Regions from separate parts of the Homo sapiens genome. Here all the other regions are linked to region 1. The links are contacts of gene promoters, found by promoter capture Hi-C in blood cells and fetal thymus (Javierre and others, 2016). All regions are on one chromosome and are shown on one strand. The core of a region is centred on a gene start or on the middle of the fragment in contact, and the rest is flanking DNA. Distances in the headings are between cores, read along the strand shown.

The links. Contacts are between HindIII fragments. The CHiCAGO score rates a contact against its expected background, and 5 or more counts as called.
Region 2: a contact is called between the fragment with the promoter of DHX9 here and the fragment with the promoter of EDEM3 in region 1, in 1 of 17 cell types (fetal thymus). The highest score is 6.3, in fetal thymus.
Region 3: a fragment that was not itself captured here is called in contact with the fragment with the promoter of EDEM3 in region 1 in 1 of 17 cell types (total B cells); the score reaches 5.5 in total B cells.
Region 4: a fragment that was not itself captured here is called in contact with the fragment with the promoter of EDEM3 in region 1 in 2 of 17 cell types (total CD4 T cells and naive CD4 T cells); the score reaches 7.4 in total CD4 T cells.
Region 5: a fragment that was not itself captured here is called in contact with the fragment with the promoter of EDEM3 in region 1 in 4 of 17 cell types (non-activated CD4 T cells, total CD4 T cells, fetal thymus and 1 more); the score reaches 8.2 in non-activated CD4 T cells.
Region 6: a contact is called between a fragment that was not itself captured here and the fragment with the promoter of EDEM3 in region 1, in 1 of 17 cell types (activated CD4 T cells). The highest score is 5.5, in activated CD4 T cells.
Region 7: a fragment that was not itself captured here is called in contact with the fragment with the promoter of EDEM3 in region 1 in 1 of 17 cell types (fetal thymus); the score reaches 5.7 in fetal thymus.

What each region holds. Positions count from the first base shown.
Region 1 is chr1:184,753,186-184,756,404 of GRCh38, forward strand. EDEM3 (ER degradation enhancing alpha-mannosidase like protein 3) reads right to left here and starts at 1,673. Exons shown (of 20, transcript NM_025191.4): 1 at 1,304-1,673. The coding sequence starts at 1,461. It overlaps LOC105371649 (a long non-coding RNA gene), which reads left to right and starts at 1,989. Exons shown (of 3, transcript XR_922357.4): 1 at 1,989-2,348. RefSeq lists enhancers at 1,257-1,356, 1,827-1,926. The HindIII fragment of the contact is 1,960 bases long and covers 1,307-3,219 here.
Region 2 is chr1:182,837,717-182,840,935 of GRCh38, forward strand. DHX9 (DExH-box helicase 9) reads left to right here and starts at 1,631. Exons shown (of 28, transcript NM_001357.5): 1 at 1,631-1,740. It overlaps DHX9-AS1 (DHX9 antisense RNA 1), which reads right to left and starts at 1,875. Exons shown (of 2, transcript NR_148933.1): 1 at 1,596-1,875; 2 at 1-218. RefSeq lists an enhancer at 1,256-2,097 and a silencer at 1,521-1,950. The HindIII fragment of the contact is 6,331 bases long and covers 1-3,219 here.
Region 3 is chr1:186,385,456-186,388,674 of GRCh38, forward strand. It overlaps ODR4 (odr-4 GPCR localization factor homolog), which reads left to right. Exons shown (of 14, transcript NM_017847.6): 4 at 533-628; 5 at 2,987-3,093. Among named protein-coding and RNA genes, the nearest start is that of ODR4, 11 kb to the left of the region's middle. The HindIII fragment of the contact is 1,570 bases long and covers 763-2,332 here.
Region 4 is chr1:186,342,376-186,345,594 of GRCh38, forward strand. It overlaps TPR (translocated promoter region, nuclear basket protein), which reads right to left. Exons shown (of 51, transcript NM_003292.3): 24 at 3,205-3,219; 25 at 2,000-2,203; 26 at 1,531-1,715; 27 at 951-1,098. Among named protein-coding and RNA genes, the nearest start is that of TPR, 31 kb to the right of the region's middle. RefSeq lists an enhancer at 1,141-2,340. The HindIII fragment of the contact is 1,456 bases long and covers 935-2,390 here.
Region 5 is chr1:186,315,365-186,318,583 of GRCh38, forward strand. It overlaps TPR (translocated promoter region, nuclear basket protein), which reads right to left. Exons shown (of 51, transcript NM_003292.3): 48 at 3,083-3,219; 49 at 2,118-2,236. Among named protein-coding and RNA genes, the nearest start is that of PRG4, 21 kb to the left of the region's middle. The HindIII fragment of the contact is 5,178 bases long and covers 1-3,219 here.
Region 6 is chr1:186,296,361-186,299,579 of GRCh38, forward strand. PRG4 (proteoglycan 4) reads left to right here. Exons shown (of 13, transcript NM_005807.6): 2 at 486-591. The coding sequence starts at 516. Among named protein-coding and RNA genes, the nearest start is that of PRG4, 1.7 kb to the left of the region's middle. The HindIII fragment of the contact is 797 bases long and covers 1,308-2,104 here.
Region 7 is chr1:183,465,984-183,469,202 of GRCh38, forward strand. The region is part of intron 3 of SMG7-AS1 (SMG7 antisense RNA 1); the gene reads right to left. Among named protein-coding and RNA genes, the nearest start is that of SMG7-AS1, 4.4 kb to the right of the region's middle. The HindIII fragment of the contact is 3,386 bases long and covers 1-3,219 here.

The DNA.
Region 1 (3,219 bases), core at 423-2,922:
TTTTTCTGAGCTCAGATTTTTTTTTTCTTTTTTAAAAAAAACATGGGATGATACTATACATATTATTCTACAACTTGCATTTTTTTTTGTTTTGGAAATATATTCTGGATAGGCTTCCAGTGACGTACTTCCTTCTTCTTAATGTCTCAATATTATTCCATAATATGAACGTACCCTATTGAACCATTTCCTCCAAGGAAGAGCTGTTCTTTCAAAATGCACTTTTTTTTTTTTTTTTCGAGACAGAGTTTCGCTCTTGTTGCCCAGGCTGGATCTATCTCTGCATTAAGAGTGCTTTTATTTTCTTAGGGTAGATTCTCAGAAATAGAACTGATGAATCAAAGTGTGCACAATTTAAATTTTAGTAGATACTACCAATAAGTTACAGCAATTTACACTCTCACTAAGCCTTTTTTTTCTATTCCTTAACTAACCAGAACCGTATCCTTGTGTTTTGTATTATATTTACTAATCTGATGGGCAAAAACCAGCTAGCTCCTCGTTTTAATCTGCATCTCCTACGTTTATGGAGGTTGAGTAACTTTTCATGTTTATTTACCACTTCCATTTCCTCTTCTGGCTTAACCGTTCATGCCTTTCTCCCATTTCCTACTGGTTCTTCGCTTTTTTCTTATTCATGTGTAGGACCTCGTGTATGTATTACTCTGAATTAAATGGTGTAAATAGAATTGATAATTTTAACACACTTCCAAGACGGATAAAAACTACTGAATAGGTATACTTGAGACTTTTGAATAATTTCCCCCCAAACATTCTATTATGAAAATACAGTGCAAGAAAACACTGCAAGGAAATAGTAAAATGTGTAAAGTTCAAGTTCCAATGAACGCCCCCTTTTCCGTAACAGGTGTAAACATCATTTCCTTAACTACTGTGAGATCAGCAACATTTTCCCAGTTGGAAGCTCACTTGCGCGAGAAAGCTAACCATGCTTCGGTCGACAGGCAGCCAACCGCAGAACTCCAGCGCGCAGCGATGCGGGCTGTAGCCCCCTTCTTGGGCCACTGACATGGCAGCCGCGTTGACACACCGCGCCTGGCTTCAAGGAGCCTGCACATGTCACCGGCGGCCAGGGCGACACCCCGTCAGCTCCCCCGAGGTCAGGTCGCGGGCGGCGGTTCCCACCTCCCCGGACCCTGTCCACCCCTCTAGGGTTCTCGCGCGGGAAGAGCCGTTCCAATCGCGACAGGAGAGGCCACTACGCGACCGGGTCGCAATGACAGGCACCCCTCCTGTTGTCAGCCTCACCGAGAAACCCACCCCAGGCTGCCAGCACCCTTACCCAAGCTTCTGTTTCTCCTCCCTACTCATGGGCTCGGCCCCCGCCGTCCACACGGAGGTGGCCGACACCAGGCAGAACGCGGCCGTCGCCGCCACTAGTCTCCATCGCGCTCGCTGGGGAACCGGGGACCCACAGCCCCGGCCGCCGGCTTCGCTCATGGCCCCGCGGTTCCGCGCACGCGCAGCTGCTACGCCCGGCCGGTGAGACACATTGCTGGACGCTGGTGGCCAGGGGGCTGCTAGCCGTGCCGAGACGGGGCGGGATGCGGAGTAACACGGACGGCCGCCGGCGCCAAACTGTTTCCCGAAGCCACCAAGCCGGTCCCCAGCGCCAGCGCTGCCACCGCCCTCCGCCCTCAGTATCCCGGAGCGCCTCCCCCAGCTTTCCGGTGTCGTAGTCTAGGAAACCGCCTCCCCAACGTTACTTCCGGGTAGGGCCGAAGCCGTAGAGCCTCAGGACCAATGGAGACCTCATGGGAGAGGGGCTGTCTCCGGCGACTGGAGAGGGCATTGGCCAGGAGAAGTGAGACGTGGACAAAAGGCGGGACTGGGAAGGGATCTCTCGCTTCGACCCGCCTCCGACCCGCGGAGTTGCCCCCTGAGGACTACCAGTCCCAGTGTGCACTGCTTCTTCCCCGGCTCTCCCGCGAGCCGACTCGGAGCCGTGTCTCTCGCTTCTACCCGGGGTAGGCGCGCTGCACCCTGGGACTTGCGGTCCTCCGAGGTCGCCAGTGGTTGCTGGGATCCCACCTCCCCCTTTCCTCGGCGCCCTACAGTCAACCCTGTCTCGGTGGGCTGCGGAGTCCCGGGAAACCCGTCAGCTGTTTATCTCTCTTCCTCAGAAAGTTGTTTCCCAGAGAGCTGGCTGAATGAGGCGCACTGTCCCCATGTCAGTGCTGCTGCGTTAGGGAATAGTGTTGGAGTAGTCGTCTACCCTCAGGGAAATTCCAAAACACAGTAACAGCAAAATGAATTGAGCCTTTGAAGGCATTGCGCTAAGGTTTTTACTCGCAATCATCTCATGCACTCTTCTCAACTCTGATAGAGTAAGTACCACCATCCCCCTTTTGCAGACGAGAAAACAGAGGCTTAGAAAAGTTGGTTAACAAGAGCTCGTCACACTGCTGTATTAGAATCCATCCAGCCTCTGATTCGGAAGCCCTTGCATTTAACCACCGCGCAGTACTACAAGGATGAAGGAGCACGTGGGTCCTCGTACATGATTAATAATAGTTACCTCAAAAGCTCAATGTAAGGAGAGCTGTGTGGGCTGCAAAGAAGGTTTAATGAAGGAGATTGGAACTTGCAATGAATTTTGATGACCGAGTCCCAGGTTAACTATTGGTAAAATGACACATCGGTTCCTCTTGAAAAACCACATTGTTTTTCTAGTGTGGTCATTCAATAGGTGCGGAGTTTAGGAGCTTCGATGTGATCTCTGTGACCACAGTAAATTACTTACGTGTCCTTTAAGCAGTATTCGGCGGTCTTTCTGGAAACGTTTCTTCCTTGACTTTTATCACCTTACCTCTTACCTCTTAACCTCTTACCTCTTCTCTGGCTGACCCGTTTTCCTTCATTCTCTCGCTACTTTATATTAAAATACAGGTGTTCCCTTAAGGTTTTCTTTTTGTCCTTTTTCTCTCTGTACTCTAATTATTCCTTGGTGATTTCTTCTCATAAGGATTCAGCCAACATATCTCTGTGGTTGATTTCTAAATCAATATCTGTCCTGATCATTAGACCCACATTTCCACCTCCCTAATAGAAATGTCCTAATGTCTAGCCCAAGGGTAGCTCAAACGTAAGATGTTTTCTGATTCAAATTAATGCATCGGAATCATTGTCAACTCATCTTTAGCCTTCGGGGTCCACGTGCAATTAATTACCAAATTATATAGATTTTACCTCTTCTAT
Region 2 (3,219 bases), core at 381-2,880, 1.9 Mb before region 1:
ATATTACTGATTTAATCTCATTACTCATAGTTGGTCTTTTCAGGTTTTCTATTTCTTCTTGGTCCAATTTTGGTAAGTTGTATCTGTTCAGGAATTTATCCATTTCCATTTGGTTTCCAATTTGTTGGCATATAGTTGTTCATAATAGTCTCTAATGATCCTTTGTATTTCTGTGGTATCGGTTTAATGTCTTCTAGGCCCCTGCTGCTTTCAACACCCTGAAGGGTACAAAAAAAAAAAAATTAAGGTCTTTCCTTCAATGATTTTATTCTTAATTAAGGAGAACAATCACATGAAGAAAATAATAAGTAAATGATAAACTATGTTGTTCTGATTTTAAGAATGACAGTTTTAAAGGGAGTGATCACTATCAGCTAGAAGGATTAAGAAAAACATAAGGAAAGAGGTGAAAAATAAAGATCCATAGATATAATGAGCCCAGATAATTGATTAGTCTGGATTCCCTGGAACAATCCCAGCTGGAAATGTTTTGTATCATTACCTTCATGGGACGCACTGGAGTTTCAAAATTTAACAGTGACTAGTATAATAATTAAGGACACAATTATTCCAAAGACTTGGAACACAAAATTACTCCAAAGACTTGGAACACAAAAGGTTATCCAATTTAAACAAAAGCAACCTTGCAGATTTTATTCCTACCTTAAAGTAGTTTGCTGAGCACTTACAGTAATGTTCCAGGCACGGCAAGGAGCGACCTGCGTTAGCCAGGCAGAATGCCCGCCTTCACTGAGCTTATTTCTTTCATGGTTTTTTTTTTTTTTTTTGAGACGGAGTCTCGCTCTCTCGCCCAGAAAATGGCGTGATCTCGGCCCACTGCAACCTCCGCCTCCGCCCCCGACCCCGGGGTTCAAGCGATTCTCCTGCCTCAGCCTCCCGAGTAGCTGGGATTGCAGGAGCCCGCCCAGCCACCCAAGCAGCTGGGATTGCAGGCGCCCGCCCCCATGCCCGGCTAATTTTTGTATTTTTTTTTTTTTTTTTAGTAGAAACGGGGTTTCACCACGCTGGCCAGGCTGGTCTCAAACTCCTGACCCCAAGTGATTCGCCCACCTCGGCCTCCCAAAGTGCTGGGATTACAGTCACCACGCCCGGCCAGTTTATTTCTTTCAAGAGACACTGGCGTTCAGACTATCTGAATCAATCCGGTAACTACGCCCACTGAACACCTACTACATGCCAGGTATTGAACTAAGCCGCCCTTCATATGCCATCTCATGTAATTATCTCAACAACCCTACCAAGTTAGCAGCAAGGTTTCCAGTTCTGCCTTCGAAGGGAACCTCCTCTCACCGGAGATCCCTATGACAGACCCTGCGAAATATTTTGCTGCATCAGAATGCTACAGGCCGTCAACTCCCTAACATGCGCAAAAGCGGGCAGCCGATTATCCAGGGTAGTGGATTATCCAGGAGAGTGGATTATCCAGAGTAGCAGGTCTGGCGCGATGCCCGCCCGGCTCAGCCCATCTCCCTAGCAACGAAACCCTTCCGCGCCGCGAGGTTGCTGAGCCCCGCCCCCTCCATTGGCGCGCCCTCGCCATCCCCCGCCCTGGCACGCGCTCTGCGCATGCGTACGCTCGCTGGCCCCGCCCCCTAGCGCCGCGGTCGGAGCCATTTCGCCGATTCCTCCATGCGAGTTGCTGTGCGTTTCTCTGTTGTCTCGGTAGAAGGCCAGAGTCACACACGGTCCTAAGAGCTGGGCACCAGGAAGCGAAGGCTGGTAAGGGAGAGACGTTCCGGCTACCATGCGGGGCGGCGGGGTCGCGGGCGGGCGCCGTGGACCATGGCTCCGCAGCCGGCTTTGTTGCGAAGCGCGGGCGGCGGCGGCGGCTGGGGGTGGGGGAAGGGACGAGCCGCCCGCGGGTCCCCGGATTGCGGGTTGCGTGCGCGCCTCGCCGCGATGCGCTTGCGCCGTCCGGGCAGCCTGTGGCCCCCTCCCCTCTCCTCCGCCCAGCGTTTCCCGCTGCTGCCTCTAGCAGGCAAAGCGCGCTTCCTCCTCTGGCCTGCGTACGCCGGGGCACCGCGGCGGCTGAGGGAAGGGGGTGCTTCGCCTGTGGTGGTTGCCGCCGGGGCGCCACTGGCCTAGGGCTCTTCATTCATTCAAGCCACGAATAACTGGCGCCGTCGTGCAGGCCTTGTGGGTAGAGGAAAAAAAATTGAAGAATGTAAAGGGAGAGCGCCTTTGGCTAGTATAGCGAGGTAAGGCGTCTCGAAGGAGGGAGGCTTTGAGCTGATAACCTCGGCCAACGCGAAGGAAAAGCAGAGCCTGCAGAAGCGGAAGGGATTAGTTATCGCTTAAGGGCAGAAACTGGGCGGGAGCTGAAAGCAGGCCATGTGACTGGAGTGTGGCGAGAAGGCCTTCAAAGGAGAATGGGTTTTAGGGTGGCAAGAGTGGAAACAAAAACCGTGTAGGACAATATTTCACTAGCCCGGGTGTGCAGTAGTGGTGGCAGGAGAGATGGGGAGAAACGAATGGATAGGGGACGTATTTTGAAGCAGAAATGCGTAGTGGTGGAAGGTAGTAGATCTGGAGTCAGGCTACGTTTTCTGGAATTCTTGCGCCTTTTTTTTTTTTTTTTTTTTTGCAAGAGTCTCGCTCTGTCGCCAGACTGGAGTGCAGTGGCGCGATGGCGGCTCACAGCAACGTCGGTCTCCCGGGTTCAAGTGATTCTCCTGCCTCAGCCTCCGGAGTAGCTGGGACTACAGGCGCGCGCCACCACGCCCAGCTAATTTTTGTATTTTTAGTAGAGACGGGGTTTCATCATGTTGGCCAGGATGGTCTCGATCTCTCGACCTCGTGATCCGCCTGCCTTGGCCTACCAAAGTGCTGGGATTACAGGCGTGAGCCTCCGCGCCCGCCCGAATTCTTGCTCTTATAATTAGGAGCTCTGTCTTCCTGAAGCAAGATATTCTTTGTCTCAGTTTCCCCTTCTCTAAAGGGATAGTGATCTTACCTGTACAAGGTTACTAAGGATTAAGTAAAATAGTTCCATTTAGATGATCTATTATGGATATTGTTTGACACACATTAAGGGTTCTACAAGGGATAGCTATGGAGAATCTTAAGGGAGTGGACGACTCTCAACTTGTGCCAGGAGTAACTTGGTGGATGTCGTACCGTTTATGGAAACCGAAATGTAGGGGTAGGGTGTTGGAACAGATTTGAGGGGAAATTTAAAATTCTGTTTTGACTGAGATG
Region 3 (3,219 bases), core at 298-2,797, 1.6 Mb after region 1:
GAGATGAAAAGATCAGAGAAGGCAGCTTCCTCAAGCTGCCTTTGAAGTATCCAGTAGGGTTGAGACATGCAGAAGTATAAGAAAAAGTCAGTTTCGGCCTAGGGAACACCCTGAGTAAAGACACATAGTTAGAAAGCCTAGGATGTGTATGGAAAACAGTTTATAGCCTCATTTGACACTACTTTTCAAGTAGTTTTTGACAAATATTTGAATTACTTGAGGAAAAGTAGTGTCAAATGAGGGTATAAACATCATTGACCAGATCCTAGAAAGTCTGAAATATCAATCTAAAATAAAACTTCATTTTATTTAGCTGATGGTGGGACGCCATTGAAAAAATATTTCAGTCTTTGATCTCCTGAGAAAAGGATTTATTTATTGATGTAGCTAAAGGATGTTGTTATCAGATAGTTTTATTTATAAAGTAGTTTTAAGGTGAAAAGCTAAGGACATGCTAAGCAGACAGTTTCTCAAACAGAAAGGATTGCATATAATGCCAATTTGTTAGCTAATAATATATTTCTATTTTTAGGTATCCAGAATGCTACCAGGGGGACTTTTAGTTCTTGGAGTATTTATTATTACTACTTTAGAACTGGCAAATGATTTTCAAAATGCCCTGCGTAGAGTAAGTTTGATATATCGAAAATTCTTAATGAAATCAGTTATATGTTATTTTTACTGATTATGAGTATGTGTAATGATTCTAGGCATATTTACATTTGTTTTCCATAATTCTTTTTGTTGGGGTTACATTGAAAAAGCTTTTGTCACTCAATTGCTTGGATATCTTGAGTGTAAAAAATGTTTATATTTTTAAAAACTACACATTTTATTTATTATTTTTTCCATGGGTAATTTTATTCTTTATTTAGTACACTACCCAAAACAGGGCTATCATCAGCCCATATGGCATTTCATACAAATTTGAAAAAGCTATTCTTTCCTCAAGTTAAAAAGTTAAATTATTTACTTCTCAATAATAACCATGACTAATGACAGTAATTCCATGTAAATTATGCAAACAAATAATTCATTGTAAAATATTGAAAAATTCAAATGATTAATTATAATATTAAGAACTCAAAGTCACTTGGATCTAATAATTTGTTGTAAAAAAGGCATCTTTGTGGAAGTAATTCTTTTTGACAGAAAAACTACATATTTTAAAATAATCTTTATTTTAGAGGTAATTTCTGACTATTAGGAAACAAATTATAATGCTTTAAACAGTTTTTCTTATGCAATAGCAGTATTCTGTCACACCTTCCATTTAGTACCTAGTGATTACTGTAACATGAAATTAATAGGTGCTGAAATTCTTTACCTTCTTCTCAATTCTCCGGAGATCCTGAGAGTAAAACATAAACAATCAGATTATTCCTGGACACAGTATCTATCAGAAATCTCCTGTGTTTTTTGCTTAATTGCTGCACCAGAGAATTGGGTAACATAGTGTAAAAGTAAATATGAAGGTCCACATGCTGTTTTCCCTTAAACCCAAACCTAAGGTAGATTCTGTGTAGCCAGCTCTTTTAGCATTCAGGATCCACATGAACTTTTTGAAGGGTATTTCATACCCCAAAAGAGGGGGAACCTTAAAATCTTGAGACATATAAAACCCAACCCCAACAGTATCCCAGAAAAACATTTTTTAGGTAAAAAATATACAGCTGAGAACTTCAGATGTTACAGATTTTTTCAGTCTTGTAACCTGTCCTGTCAGATGTCCCAGCCTCAAGCCTTTGATATTTGCACCTAAGGGAGTAAGGGAAGAAAATGGAGATATTCTCCTCCCTGCTAAATTGTTTAACCCTCTGCCAACTTTTCCATCTTAAATAAATTTACCTTGTTTACAATTGTTCATTCTCTTTGGCATTTTGAAATTTAACCGAAATCTATGCGTATTTAATATTAATAGCATTCATTGTGCAACCTTTTTTGGCTGGTGCTGAATTGAGGGGGTTGAATGTGGGCCCAGTGCTAGAGAGATACAGCCAGGCCCACTTTCCTTGCTTTTGTATCTTTTGTTCCTAAAAAGTATATAAAACTTTAGAAATGCTTTATCTCTGACATTACTGAGTTTCAATTATCTAATTGTTTCCACTGGCTACACTGACAAACACTACAAGAAACAGCCTTATAAAACTTGTCAGTGTCACCCATTATTGTTAAGGACTTTATTCATCATATTACATTAATATTGTGTTTCCGGAAGAATTTCTTTTTATATTATGAAGAAGGTTGTGCCTCCTCTGATGATTGTTTTTAGCTTACAGACCATGTGAATTAGGTTACAGATTAGATTTCTCTCTGCACATTATTGTTAGAAAGCTTAGACCGAAATGTATTACCACCCCTTACATCAAGTATGCATTTTTATAATTCTTATTTCTGACACAAATTTATCTCACTATTCTACTTTAACTTTCAATTTGTTATTACTATATTTTATATGTTGTTATATATTGCCTTAAGTCTTGTGTGACGTTTAAATAAGAAATGCTAAATGGGTGACATGCTTGATTTCTTTAGTTAAAATCACTTATCATTTCTCATTCTAATTAAAGTCTCTGTTCTATAGTTTATATAAATTCTAGTTGCCCCAAATTAATTTTTTGTGTCCAGTTAATCTCTAATGATAGTGAATTAAATTTTTTTATTTAAACCCAATTTTTCTGTAATTTCCTAAAAGGAATTCAAAAATGTTAGTAATTAGCTCCAGTCTTTAATTTGAAGAAAAGAAAAATTAATGGTGGCACACACCTGTAGTCCCAGTTACTTGGGAAGCTGAGGTGAGAGAATCACTTGAGCCCAGGTGTTCAAGGCCAGCTTGAGCAACATAGTGAGACCCCTTCTCCAATAAATAAAGAATCATGGAATTTTAAAGCTAAATGAGAGTTGGGGACATTATAATTGCCTATTTCAACACTCATCTTTTTTTTTCATTTTACATTCAATTAGTGTGTATTTTTCTCTCTTTCAGCTAATGTTTGCTGTGGAAAAGTCTATAAATAGAAAGAGATTGTGGAATTTCACAGAGGAGGAAGTCTCAGAACGAGTGACACTTCACATTTGTGCTTCTACAAAAAAGTATCTTTTGTTCAGTTTATGGTTTAAAAGTACAAAGTACCAAAATAATATTCTTGCAAGGTTTTTTTGCTATTTATTTAAATCATCATTTAAAAAATAGGCATAGTTTTGTAAGATTTTTCTGTA
Region 4 (3,219 bases), core at 413-2,912, 1.6 Mb after region 1:
TAGTATTTACTTTCTATAGCCCAAAGGAATAAAAAATGAAGCGGAAAAGACTGAAACAATATGCAGTCTTTGTTAGAGACTCTGATTCTGTCCCTTTTCCTCCAAGTATTAACTCTATTGAACTGGAGGCTCTATTATTTCCATGGTGAGATACATTTGAATTAAACAGGATATAATTCTGGAACCTTTAGCTTTTGCTGAACACATAAATCCCATAAAATTCATTATTTACTTTTCCCTGTCCAATGGTTTCTTCTTAACAGTCATTTTGACTACTCATCAGTTAAAAGAAGATAAATGTTTTAAGATCTTAATTTCCTTCCTTCTAGAGGTGGGGGTATATTACTGTAGCTCCTAAGAATGAAGTAACTCAACAATAAGCTTTGGGTGGTAGTGTGGGGTAAGGAGTCAAGCTTGTCTTATTATCATCCATTTCACTACCACAGCTTCTTTTCCTTTGGTTGTTAGTTTTTACTACTTTTTGCTCCTTGGGTGAGAAAGATATTCTGTAGCAGTTTAAATCACTTTATCCTAGAATGACTATCCACACGTATAATCCATAACTATAATAAATTAAGATAGCTGGAATTTATTAAGCACCCACTACATACCAGACATGCTTCTAAATGCTTCATGTGCACAAACTCAATTAAACCTCATTATTATCCAAATATTACAGATGAAGAAACTAAGAGCAGGGAAGTTAAACAATGTACCCAAGGCCACAGCTAATGGTATGAAGCTAGAATCTGAAACCAGGCAGTTTGGTTACAGAGCCTTTACTTTTAAGCACTATACTATATTAGTGTTTAACAAATGCTTAATGAATTTACAAGTTTAGAAGAATGCTTACTTCAAGTTAAATTTTACATTACGTTAAATGGTAGAGATATAAATGAGTGCTTCTCTTTTGATTTAACAAGTGCTTTCTTAAAGCTTAGTATACCTACCTGGACTTTCTCCCTTTCAGCATTTAGACTATCTTGCAGTTCCTGCAGCTCTCTTTCTAAAAGTTCAACCCTTTGTCGATAACGCAGACTCTCAACCTGAGCCACCTCAAACCTAGTTTCAGCAATTTCTTTTTCTCGTCGTATAAATCTACAAAAATACAGATATTAAAATTTTATGTGAATTTTAAAAAGCCAACATTACAAAACGTAGGTAATTTGGTAAGATGACAAAAATCATTGACTTTAATAACTATTACACGTTTTCATTAATAATAAATAATAATGGGAGATGTATTTCTATTTTCTTTTATAGACACTGGCTTTAGAATGTTTATCTCTAAAATGATCTGAAAGGCATTTAGTTTTTCAAGAGAAAACTGCTCTAGTTCTTACTATCAGATTCAACTTTAAAGTCACTTGTTTAATATGTGTAAATGTTAAAAGTTATGAGTTCTTTGACAAATAAAAGAATGAACTTTATATCAAAATCGTGTATAATCTCCTTCTCTAATTTATATATTTGTAGTTTCATTTCATAGTTGTTATACCACAGAAATGAAGCAGTAAGAACATGATTTACCTGAGAATTTCCAAAATTTGTTCTTGAGATTTTCCTTCTTCACTGAGAGATACATTCAGTGGACCTTGTACACCTTCCTTCACAGAGGCAACGACCTTGTCACTTAATTTTTCGATCTGATCATGAAGTAATCTGTTTTGTTTCTCCAGATCTTCACAGCGACATACACATTTGGAAACTTCATCCTGCAAGCCAAGAGTCTATCAGAATAACAGATTTTCCAATGCATATTTAAAAAAAACAACTTGGCCAGGCGCGGTGGCTAACGCCTGTAATCCCGACTACTTGGGAGGCTGAGGCAGGAGAATTGCTTGAACCCAGCAGGTGGAGATTGCAGTGACCCCAATATCACGCCATTGCACTCCAGCATGGGTGACAGAGCGAGGCTCCATCTCAAAACATTATAAAATAAAGAAAAAAACAACTCTTTCAATTCAACAGAACATTCTATTCAGATTTACAATAATACCTTTAACATTCTCTCTCTTTCCTCCCAAGATGCTTTACACTCCAACAACTGTGATTCTGCTTTCTGTGTTGTTTCTTCCAAATGCTGACGGACTGATGCCATTTTTGAAACCTGCTCCTTCGCAGCTTGTAGAGCTTCAACATCAGCAGCATGCAGCATCAATTCTCTCTCATACTTATTCTGAGCTTCCACAGCTATTTTAGCCTATAAGAAATTATTACCCAATTGATACCAAAGATTAAAAATCCATAAAACTAGTTAGCACTTGTCCAAAGATACACATTGGACTTTTTAAATAATAAAAGTAAAGACAATCTAAATGTAGCAAAATAAGAAAATAATTAAAAGTTAATGCTTTAGTTACTTAATATTATAAAACTGTCAGAAATGAAGCTTAGAAGACCAGCAATTTGGACAAACTTTTTGATATAAGAAGCTAAACATAACTCAGCTATATTAAGTACTAAATTATAGATCCATTGATTTTAATGAAATTTACTTTGAAGCATTTCTTCCCTGTATTACATTTTAAAATAGCAATATACACGTCACATATATATAGGCAATAAAGAATAGTAAGCAAATGAATAGCTATTAACATGACACCCAACTTAAAATAAGAACATTACCAATATGCTCAAATGTACTGCTATCCCATCCTACCATTTTAGTAACTCTGAATCCTGAATTGTTTTATCATTTCCTGTTCATAAAAAAATTATAAAAAGCTTCAATACTGTGTGCACATACATACATACACTCAAAATAATGATACTTTTTTAACATTTTATAAATAGTATATAGATATCTGCGCAAACTTGGTAATGCATTAACAATGTTATCAAGAGGTTCTTGTTTTGTTAGCAAAGGTTGCCTCTAATCAACTGTATCTGTAATTTTATAATCAGATCTAGTGAAGGACAATAGTAAAATAATTTTTGCAAATGAGAGCCAAGTACAAATTTTAGTCTCCTAGTCCTGTTTTTATTTTCCCATTGTCAAGATTGCTTTGTTAATGAATATTGCCCTATGTATTTATTTTTAGCCTTCCATCTATACTTTTCAATTTGTCTTGTCTAAGTTCCACAAAAGTGGAAATTATCTTGAATTTTTGTAAGGTCCACCAGTTCTTATAATGCATAAATATACTTCAAGAATCATTCTCTAGGATCGAAGCTCATTTCTCAATAATTGGCTATACTTACTTGTTCCTGACAGTC
Region 5 (3,219 bases), core at 257-2,756, 1.6 Mb after region 1:
AAATATCAAGTCCCTCAGCAAACAGCCTACAACAGAACACAAATTATATCTGATTCTTTTTCAGACACCCCAAATGCAATCATTAGCAAATCATGAATGCTCAAATTTAAATATATATCCCAAATCTGACAACTTCTCACAATCCTAACTCTACCATCTCACCTAAGCCATTACTATCTTTTCCTGACTTACTGCAGTAGCCTCCAAAGTTTCTCGTTTCTGTCCATTATTCATTTTTAATCTCTTCTGTATGCAGCAGCCAAACTGATCAGATCATGTCATGTCATTATTCTGTGTGAAGCCCTCCAATAGCTTCTGGTATCCATGACAGCCAAGGCAATTACAATGATCTACTCGATCTATCCTCTCCCGCCTCTTAACATATCTCCTGCTACTCTCTGTTCTCACTCACTGTGCTCCAGCCACAGTGGCCTCCTTGTTGACCCTGAACACAAGCAGACACACTGCTGCCTTATGGACTTGGCATCTATTAATATTCTCTTTGATCTAGTATGCTCTTCATTAAGTAACTGCACAGCTTTGATCCCTTTCTTCTTTCAGCTCTTAAATGTCACCTTCTCTTAGTGATGCTTCCTATGAAACTGCCTGCTACACTGTCAAATATTTGTTGACCAAATGAATACTCAGATGGGGGAAGTACAGTTTTACATTATCAAATAAATTTAAAGACATCGTAATTTCATATTATACTTTAAAGGAAACAACCATATTTTCTCATACAAGCTCTGATAAGATATAACAAGTGCTAATTCTATTGAGGAAAGCCAATTTTTATGGGACGTCAAAATATAACTGGGGGCACAAAACTTCAGTAATCATTAATATGATTGTTATACATTTTTTAAGCCTTACTGCGTATGAAATGGTTCTGTAATTTACATACATTATTTTAAATCCTGATTGCAAGATTAGTTATGAGTATCCATATTACATAATGTATAGAAATTTAAAGTTACCAGATATGAAACGGTAGATATTAGGGATATTAACCAATAGGCTGATGTGTCACATCAAAGCAGCTGAGAATCAGGGGAAGAGATTTTGGGATAGCAAAGTTCTGTGATTTAAAAAAGTAATAAATAACTGAGCAGGTCTGCCATAAAATCTGAAGGTTCCATGGCAGAGTTTGAGAATTACCACTGTAAACAATTAAAAATTAAAATAATCAGACTGAATGACCAAGTACTGTATATCCTTAATAGTAAAGGTAATTCTCTGTCTAAAAATTTGAGATAGATGAGCTAGTATAGTGTATTGTTCAAGAGTGGGGTCTCTGGAGCCAGACTTCTTCAGTGTAATCGTTGCTTGTCCGTTACTTATTAGCTATTTGACTTTGAAGAGGTTATTCACCCTTTCTGTGCCTCAGCTTCCATATCTATAAAATGTGGATGAATATCTACCGCACTGAGTTGCGAGAATCAAATAAGGAAATATAAGTAAAGGGCTCAGAATACTACATGATACACAGTTAAGTGTTCAGTAAATGCTAACTGTTATTCTAAAAAATAACTTCTATTACAGGAATAATACATATCTTTTTTTCAAAATAACTTCAAAAATTTGAAAAGCCAAACTCTGAAACTGTTTACATCAGTAAATTTCAAACAATTTTTTTAAGCAACTGAGCTCTTACCCCTTAACTCTCCACATCAAATCTCATGTAGAACCCCAATATGTAGAACACATAAAAATGGAGCTGCTGTGGTTCAAACAGAGGCAAGAGGCCTGGAGTGCCCTAGCACTCCTTAGCCTCCCTCCCAGTATACCCACCCACTACAACCCCTGTAGCACCTCTAAAAGACCCAAGAGCTCTACAAAACATATGTTGACAACCAATAGTCTAGATGAAACATGAGTGAGCTATTCTTTTGGGATGGATCCACCATGTCCATATTTCTTATTATTGATGCCAGAATATTCTTAGAATAATTATTTCAATATAAACCAAGTTCCTTTTAATAATAAAATTTCTCTTTTAAATAAAGCATTTTAAAATACAGGAAAAAAGGATTATTAATTTGTTACTAATAAAGCAGTGTTTTCACAAACAAGTTTGATGTATAAAAACTGTATTGCAGTCAAGGGCAGGGACTCACCTACAGATGAGCTAGAAGGAGGATCCTGGCTGGTGGAGGGGAGATCTGACTCATCAGATGCTTGAACCGGCTCTTCTTCCTGCTGGCTATCAATTTCTAGGCCTGCTTCTGAACTAATACTAAGGAAAAGAAAAATGAGAAAATACAAAACTGATCCTACAGTCAATCATAAATTATATCCACTCTTTTAAATCTATTTTATCACTTAAGTAATCCAGAGCTCCCTTAAACAAAAAATTATAGACTGATTTGGTTACCATATATATTTTTCAAAGGAGCAGGGGGGAAAAGAGCTCAAATTGTTTTTTCCTCATTCCTTTTCTCACTATGACATGTTCCAATTTTAGTTTATGATTTTCCTCTTCTTATGTTTCCTTTTGACAAGGATGTTCACATTCTTGACACTCATAAGAAATATATGGTCCAGATTTTGATAAATCTCAAAACAACATTTTAGGAAAGCACAGTACTATAAAAAGTTCACAACAGTCACACTACTAAATAGTATACCAGTAACCAAACCACGGGCTCTAGCCCAGATGAGATAGGCTATGGGTATGTAAAATTCCTGGCTCAGTGGCTACATCCATCTTTCTCTCTTCCATTCAAGACACAAATGAGGGAGACAGTACAAGAATAACATGAATCTGCTCCAGTTTAAGTCATGTGAAAATTTCAGTACAAAATGACTACAAAAATTAGCCAGGCATGGTGGCGGGTGCCTGTAATCCCAGCTACTTGGGAGGCTGAGGCAGAAAATTGCTTGAACCCAGGAGGCGGAGGCTGCACTGAGCCGAGATCACGCCACTGCACTCCAGCATGGGCGACAGAGCGAGACTCTGTCTCAAAAAAAAAAACAAAAAAAAACAAAACACAACTTTGCAGATTGTTTCTTGGCTAAAGGAAAACAAATGTACAAGTCTGTTGAGACTAAAGCAAGCAAAAACAACAAAATAAACTTTTACCCTTCAGATTCTGCCTCCACAAATACTTCATCTCCATCATCACCTGTTGCTGTTTCATTTGTTGTAGATAAAGTGCCAGTGGATGTAGTCACCATTGGAACAGATTGAGAGGCATGTTCCGAAGCATCAGAGGTGGT
Region 6 (3,219 bases), core at 456-2,955, 1.5 Mb after region 1:
TGTGTAAAGATAGTAGTTGGAAATTTTTGAAAAGGATTATGTTTATGCAATACACCTGTTGGAAGCCTTTGAATTTATATTGAGAATTAAGAAAAAGTTGGAACAGTAACTCCATGATGCTTATTAAATTACATTTCTGTGACACAGGTTATTATTTTCCTTAAGATAAAATTTTAACCTTGCACTGTTAAGTACATGCCATACTTTGGCTAGAGTTTTAAGATAAGTCTATTCTATATTGGAGATTTCTTAAGAATTAAAACTGTCAATAACGTGGCTGAGGGTGACTTGATTTGTTCTGCATAAGATTAAGTCTAATGGCCAAATATTTTCTATAAAATTAAAGCTGATTTAAAGTCTTGTTTCAAGAATGGGATGGTTTTATTATTGTTACATTTTTAAAGTTACTGAAATGTGTATAATGCAAGCCTAAGTTAGTGGTGAGATGAAAGAGCTGTTTTCTGATACTTTTATTTTATTTTCAGCAAGGGTACCTACGGTACCTGAAAACAACGATGGCATGGAAAACACTTCCCATTTACCTGTTGTTGCTGCTGTCTGTTTTCGTGATTCAGCAAGTTTCATCTCAAGGTAGCTTAACCATCGAACATACTTTTATTTAACAACTATTGCTAATCATTCAGTCTTGATTTTTATAACAACGGAAATATATTTCTAAAAATTTATATTTGCTTGAGTTTAATATACTGTACAACCTTAAAATAATATATAACATGTAGCCTGTTTGTAAGTGCTTTGGAATTCTCATCTTTTTCTCCTTTTGAGAGTTTTGAGCTTGTATAAAGAATAATTTTGGTACTTGTTATTTCTATGGTTCTCTCGAAAGTTTAAAAAGTGCAGACAGTTCATCATAAAATTATGCTGGAGCTATATAGTATCATAAAAATAACTAAAAAAGAACAATATTTAGATAACATGTAATTTTTGCCTATATGTTGAACAATTTGTTTTTTAAAATCAAATAAATTATTGATAAATAACTTATTTTGGCATCATTTAGACATAGATACCATATTATAATAAACTATAGTGTTTCAAATGGCATTTTATTAGTCTTGAAAATGTTCTCTTTTTCTTACAAGAACTATTTATCCAGGTATGGACATATACAGATGTGACTGTCATTTTGTGTTATAACATTAAACTTTTCACAGTTCTCCCAAAACAGGTCCTGGATGAATAGTTCTTGTTACTCATTTTTAGAGACTGTTAAAGTACATTCAGTGAAATCACATTAGTAAAAGATGCTAGCATGCCATCTAGGGGGATTAATAGTAACAATGCCAAGCTTTGGATTTTTCTTTTCTTTTCTTTTCCTTTTGTTCCCCTTTGATAAGCAAAATCTGAGAGAATAAAAATCAAGATTCATGACAGTTATGATGAAATTATGTTTCTAAAGTAAACATTTCCAGTAAAATACGAGATTCTTATGAAACCTGAACATGAGTGGTAACTGTCTGCATAGGCATAAGTTGCAGAATTGTTTAGATAAGAAAAGACAGGAAAACACATGAAAGCAAATGTGAATATTCAATAAGAATGATGACTACTCCAGTATCTCCAGACCCTTCGGCTTTCTCGTAACACTATGACAAGGTTCACAACACTGGGGGCACTTTCTAAACTGCCTTTTCCTCTGTGATACAATTGGTTGTTCACTAAAACAGTGTTACTTTCATTTTAATTGTGATTAAATAAATCAAATTAAAATTAATGGGGCTGGGTGTGGTGGCTCACACCTGTAATCCCAGCATTCTGGGAGGCCTAGGGAGACAGATCACCTGAGGTCTGGAGTTCAAGAGCAGCCTGGGCAACATGGCAAAATCTTGTCTCTATACAAAATACAAAAAAATTAGCCAGGTGTGGTAGTGTGTGCCTGTAATCCCAGCTATTCGGAGGCTGAGGCAAGAGGATATCTTGAATCCAGGAGGTGGAGGTTGCATTAAGCTGAGCTTGCATCATGGCACTCCAGCCTGGGCAACAGAGTGAGACTCTGTCTCAAAAATAAATAAATAAATAAATAAAATTAATGGTTACAATTAATAGCAATAAAAGTAGGACAGACACCTAATCTATGAAAGTAAGCTTTTCCTGTAAGGATGATTTCCTCTTTTTTTTTTTTCTTTTGAGACAGGGTCTTGCTTTGTCTCCCAGTCTGGAGTGCAGTGGCACAATCTTGGCTCACTGCAACCTCCACCTACGGGGTTCAAGCGATTCTCCTGTCTCAGCCTCCCGAGTAGCTGGGATTACAGGCCCCTGCCACCATGCCCGGTTAATTTTTGTATTTTTAGTAAAGACAGGTTTTCACCATGTTGGCCAGGCTGGTCTCACCTGACCTCAGGTGATCCGCCCGCCTCAGCCTCCCAAAGTGCTGGAATTACAGATGATTTCTTATTTCAGAAATCTGCCAACTATAAAAGAGCAATCTCTTGATACTGTCTTGTCTGCTTCTCTTGCTTTCTCAACCTCTTCTCATTCTCTTTTTTCTTTATATATAATATATGTATTTATATACATACACTATATATACATTTTTGTATGCATTATGCACTCATGTACGCAAAAAGTTCTGAAAGTTGTCCTACAATTTACTGTTTTATTTGCATATTCAGACTTTGGCATTCCTGGACTCTATTCTTTTAAGATTTGTTTTCAGTGTGTTTCAACATTCCTTTGTGGATTTAGGACAGTACACCTGCCAATTTCTATTCCAGGGATGGATTCCATTGTCACATTTCTGCAGTCATTTCTCAGGGAGGGTTTTAAGGTGGTGTTTTCCAAATGACTTTTAAAAAATATTTGAGAATGAGTATGCTTTTGTTATTGTTTGCTTATTTGTTGCCTGGAAAACCTCTGTTCATGACCTTTATAGTTATGCCCAGTTATTTTAAGGGTTCTCACTTCAGCAGTGGTTGTAAGCATCTGCCTCCCCTGACATTTTAAAAATCCAGTTATCCCCACCAATTAAGGAAGAAAAAGCTCAGTAAAGTTTATGCTGGTGCAACCAGCGTGCTTTAAACTTATCCTCAGGAATGGGAGGCAAAGCGACAGGTGGAAACATCTCAGGCTTAAAATAAGATATATCAGAGTTCAAATTCTGGATGGATTGTTTACTTAAGGTGACCATAAAATGTATTATCTAAATTAGGACAATTATAAGGGTAAAAGAGTTCACTACAAATAATTGGGAGGTATTAA
Region 7 (3,219 bases), core at 366-2,865, 1.3 Mb before region 1:
CTTAACCCAACAATATTAAGAATTGTTTTTAAGATGGAGCCTTGCTATGTTGCCCAGGCTGGCCCCAAACTCCTTGGCTCAAGTGATCCACCTGGCTCAGCCTCCTGAGTAGCTGAGATTATAGGCACCTGCCACTGTGCCAGGCTAATATTAAGAATTTTAACAAATATGACCAGGTGAGGTGGCTCACCTGTAATCCCATTACTTTGGGAAGCCAAGGCTGGAGGTTCTTGAGCCCAGGAGTTTGAGACCAGCCTGGGCAACATAGGGAGACTGCTGTTTCTACAAAAAATAAAAAAATTAGCTGGGCATCGTGAGGGAAGCCTGTAGTCCTAGCTACTCGAGAGGCTGAGGCAGGGGAATTACTTGAGCCCGGGGGTTGAGGCTGCAGTGAGCTGTGATCATGCCACTATACTCCAGCCTGGGCAACAGAGCAAGACCCTGTCTCAAAAAAAAAAAAAAAAAAAAAGAAAGAAAGAAAGAAAAAGAAAAAGAAAAGAAAGAACTTTTACATATATGGAACAAACTATCCAGGTTTTTGATATGTAAAAGTTTTCTGAGAATAGAAAAGACCCTGGGATTGTTAAGCAAAGCAAAAAAGTGCTTGGATGCATATTCTTAGTATGCCTTGAAGTGATGGACCTAAGTCCTAAGTTTCTTTGCTTTTCATCTTTATCACATTTTAACTTGAATTGCCAATTGAATTGGTACAATAATAATGTCAGGGAAAAGAGGAAGGTGTGTGTTATTTCGTTTTCACACTGCTATAAAGATACTACCCGAGACTGGGTAATTTATAAGCAAAGGGGGTTTAATTGACTCACAGTTCCATATAGTTGGGGAGGCCTCAGGAAACTTACAATCATGGTGGAAGGGGAAAAATGGACCTTCTTTACAAGGCAGCAGGGAGAGACAAACAAAGGAGGAAGTTCCAAACACTTACAAAAACATAAGATCTTGTGAGAACTCACTCACTCATGAGAACAGCATGGGGGAAACCACCCCCATGATCCAATCACCTCCCTCCCTGGACACGTGGGGATTACAGGTCCCTCCGTCAACATGTGGGGATTATAAATAGAGATCAGATTTGGGCAGGGACATAGGGCCAAACCATATCAGTGTGTGCATGTGTACATGCATGTACATGTTTCCCATGGTTTTGAAGAACAGATTTATGACAATGAATATCAGTATCACATTCTTAGTGCTCCAAATTACTATCTACCTGATAAAAGTTAGGAAAGTAGAAACTAGAAAATATTAAAAGATTATGTTATTTTAGTTGGGTGTTTTAAGAAAAATATGGCAACTTCTAGGTAACTGAACAGACTTTGACATGAAATATGTTGCTGTTAGATTAGGGACCCACAAGATGATTTCAGTAAGTACTGTGCTTCGGGTAGTAAAGAGATGCATGAACACTAAGGCCTTCTGCCAATAAAATAAGAGAGGCTACGGTTTTTGTTTTTGTTTTTCAATACTTTTCAATCTTTCCTATGAGCATCTCTTCTTGTCTTCTCCAGATTGTGTCCATTAAATCAGCAGATAAGAATTTTAGGTGTGGTAATTTCTCAGAGGTATTTGCTTATTGGGAGTTGGGGGAAACCTTGAAGATAGTAAGATTTCCCTTAGTAAATATTAGGAGAATGGAGAAGTGAAGGGGGAGAGAAAGCTCTGAATATTATTCCCCAACTGTCACCTCAGTGCCTCCCAAATCAGAAGTTTCTTTTCTTCAATCTTGGACTGCAATGATTCCCGACTATTCTTCAGGCTAAAAGACTCCCTCTTTGGAGTGAATGAATAAATATACACTTGGCAAACTGTTTGAAAAAGGCTACTGACCCTTGATCTAAGAAATCTTGAGCAACAGGAGACCTGAATTTAAATGTCAATTTGTATCTGACTCACTATTTGAAGAGAATGAATTACTCATTTGATTGAATCACTTAACTCTATGGTCTGAGGTGTGGTACTGAAGAGGAATGAATGGCTAGCTTCACACATATTGTGTACTGAGTATGCAACTGATAATAAATGTGTTTCTGCTTTGATGAGAATGATTTACCAAGTTCCTAATTGTGCACAGGATTTATAAACATTCAGAATATATAGGATAAATATTAAAATAAATTAGGGCTTGTTACGATGTCATGGCACAGGCTGTCTATTATTATAAAAAGGGAGGAGGCCTGCTATGTATTAATCGTCAGGTTACCAAAGCTCTGGGTAAATTTGGTAAGAATGTTAAGAGTAGCTTCTCAGCAAGTACTGTGTTTGATTGAAAAGAGGCCATTCCATCTACTTGGACAGAAATGTGGTTATATTAGCCTGTTTTATGTGATAAAAGGTTTTTGAAAAGTTTTAAATCTCTAGCATTGGACTCACAATGTCCTAATATTGTGTTCTTTTCTGTAATCAGTCATGAATAAAGAAATCTATCTTCTAGCACTGGATGCCAATAGATTTGAATGTGAGTTCAGACCTATGAGTATTATAGACAAAGACTAGATTGAGAGCTGGGTACAGTGATTCACACCTAAAATCCCAGCTACTTGTGAGGCTGAGGCGGGAGGACTGCTTGTGGCTAGGAGTTAGAGATAGATAGCCTGGGCAATACAGTTAGGCTGCATCTCTATTTAAAAAAAAAAAAGACTAGATAGAGTATTATTTTAAAAAATAATGTTATGCTGTAGTAGTTCTATTTTACTCTTTTTAGCTTGATATAAAAGAGCAAAAGGGACTGGGCAAGGTGGCTCACACCTGTAATCCCAGAACTTTGAGATGCCAAGGCAGGTGGATCACTTGAGGTCAGGAGTTTGAGACCAGCCTGGCCAACATGGTGAACCTTGTCTCTACTGAAAATACAAAAATTAGCTGGGCGTGGTGGCACACACCTGTAGTCCCAGCTACTTGGGAGGCTGAAGCACAAGAATTGCCTGAACCCAGGAGGCAGAGGTTGCAGTGAGCTGAAATTGTGCCACTGCACTCCAGCCTGGGTGACAGAGTAAGTCTCTGTCTCAAAAAAAAAAAAAAAAAAAGCAAAAAGGCAGAAAAAAATTTAATGTTTATCAAGTTCAGTGTTGTATAATGGGCACTCAATCATGTATGTCATCATTAAAGGTCACAGGAAGCCTATAACAGGTAATGCTTCCATTTTGGTCAAGGAGCAAACTGAAGTTCAGACACCAAGATGGCAGAGTTAGAATGCATACTCAG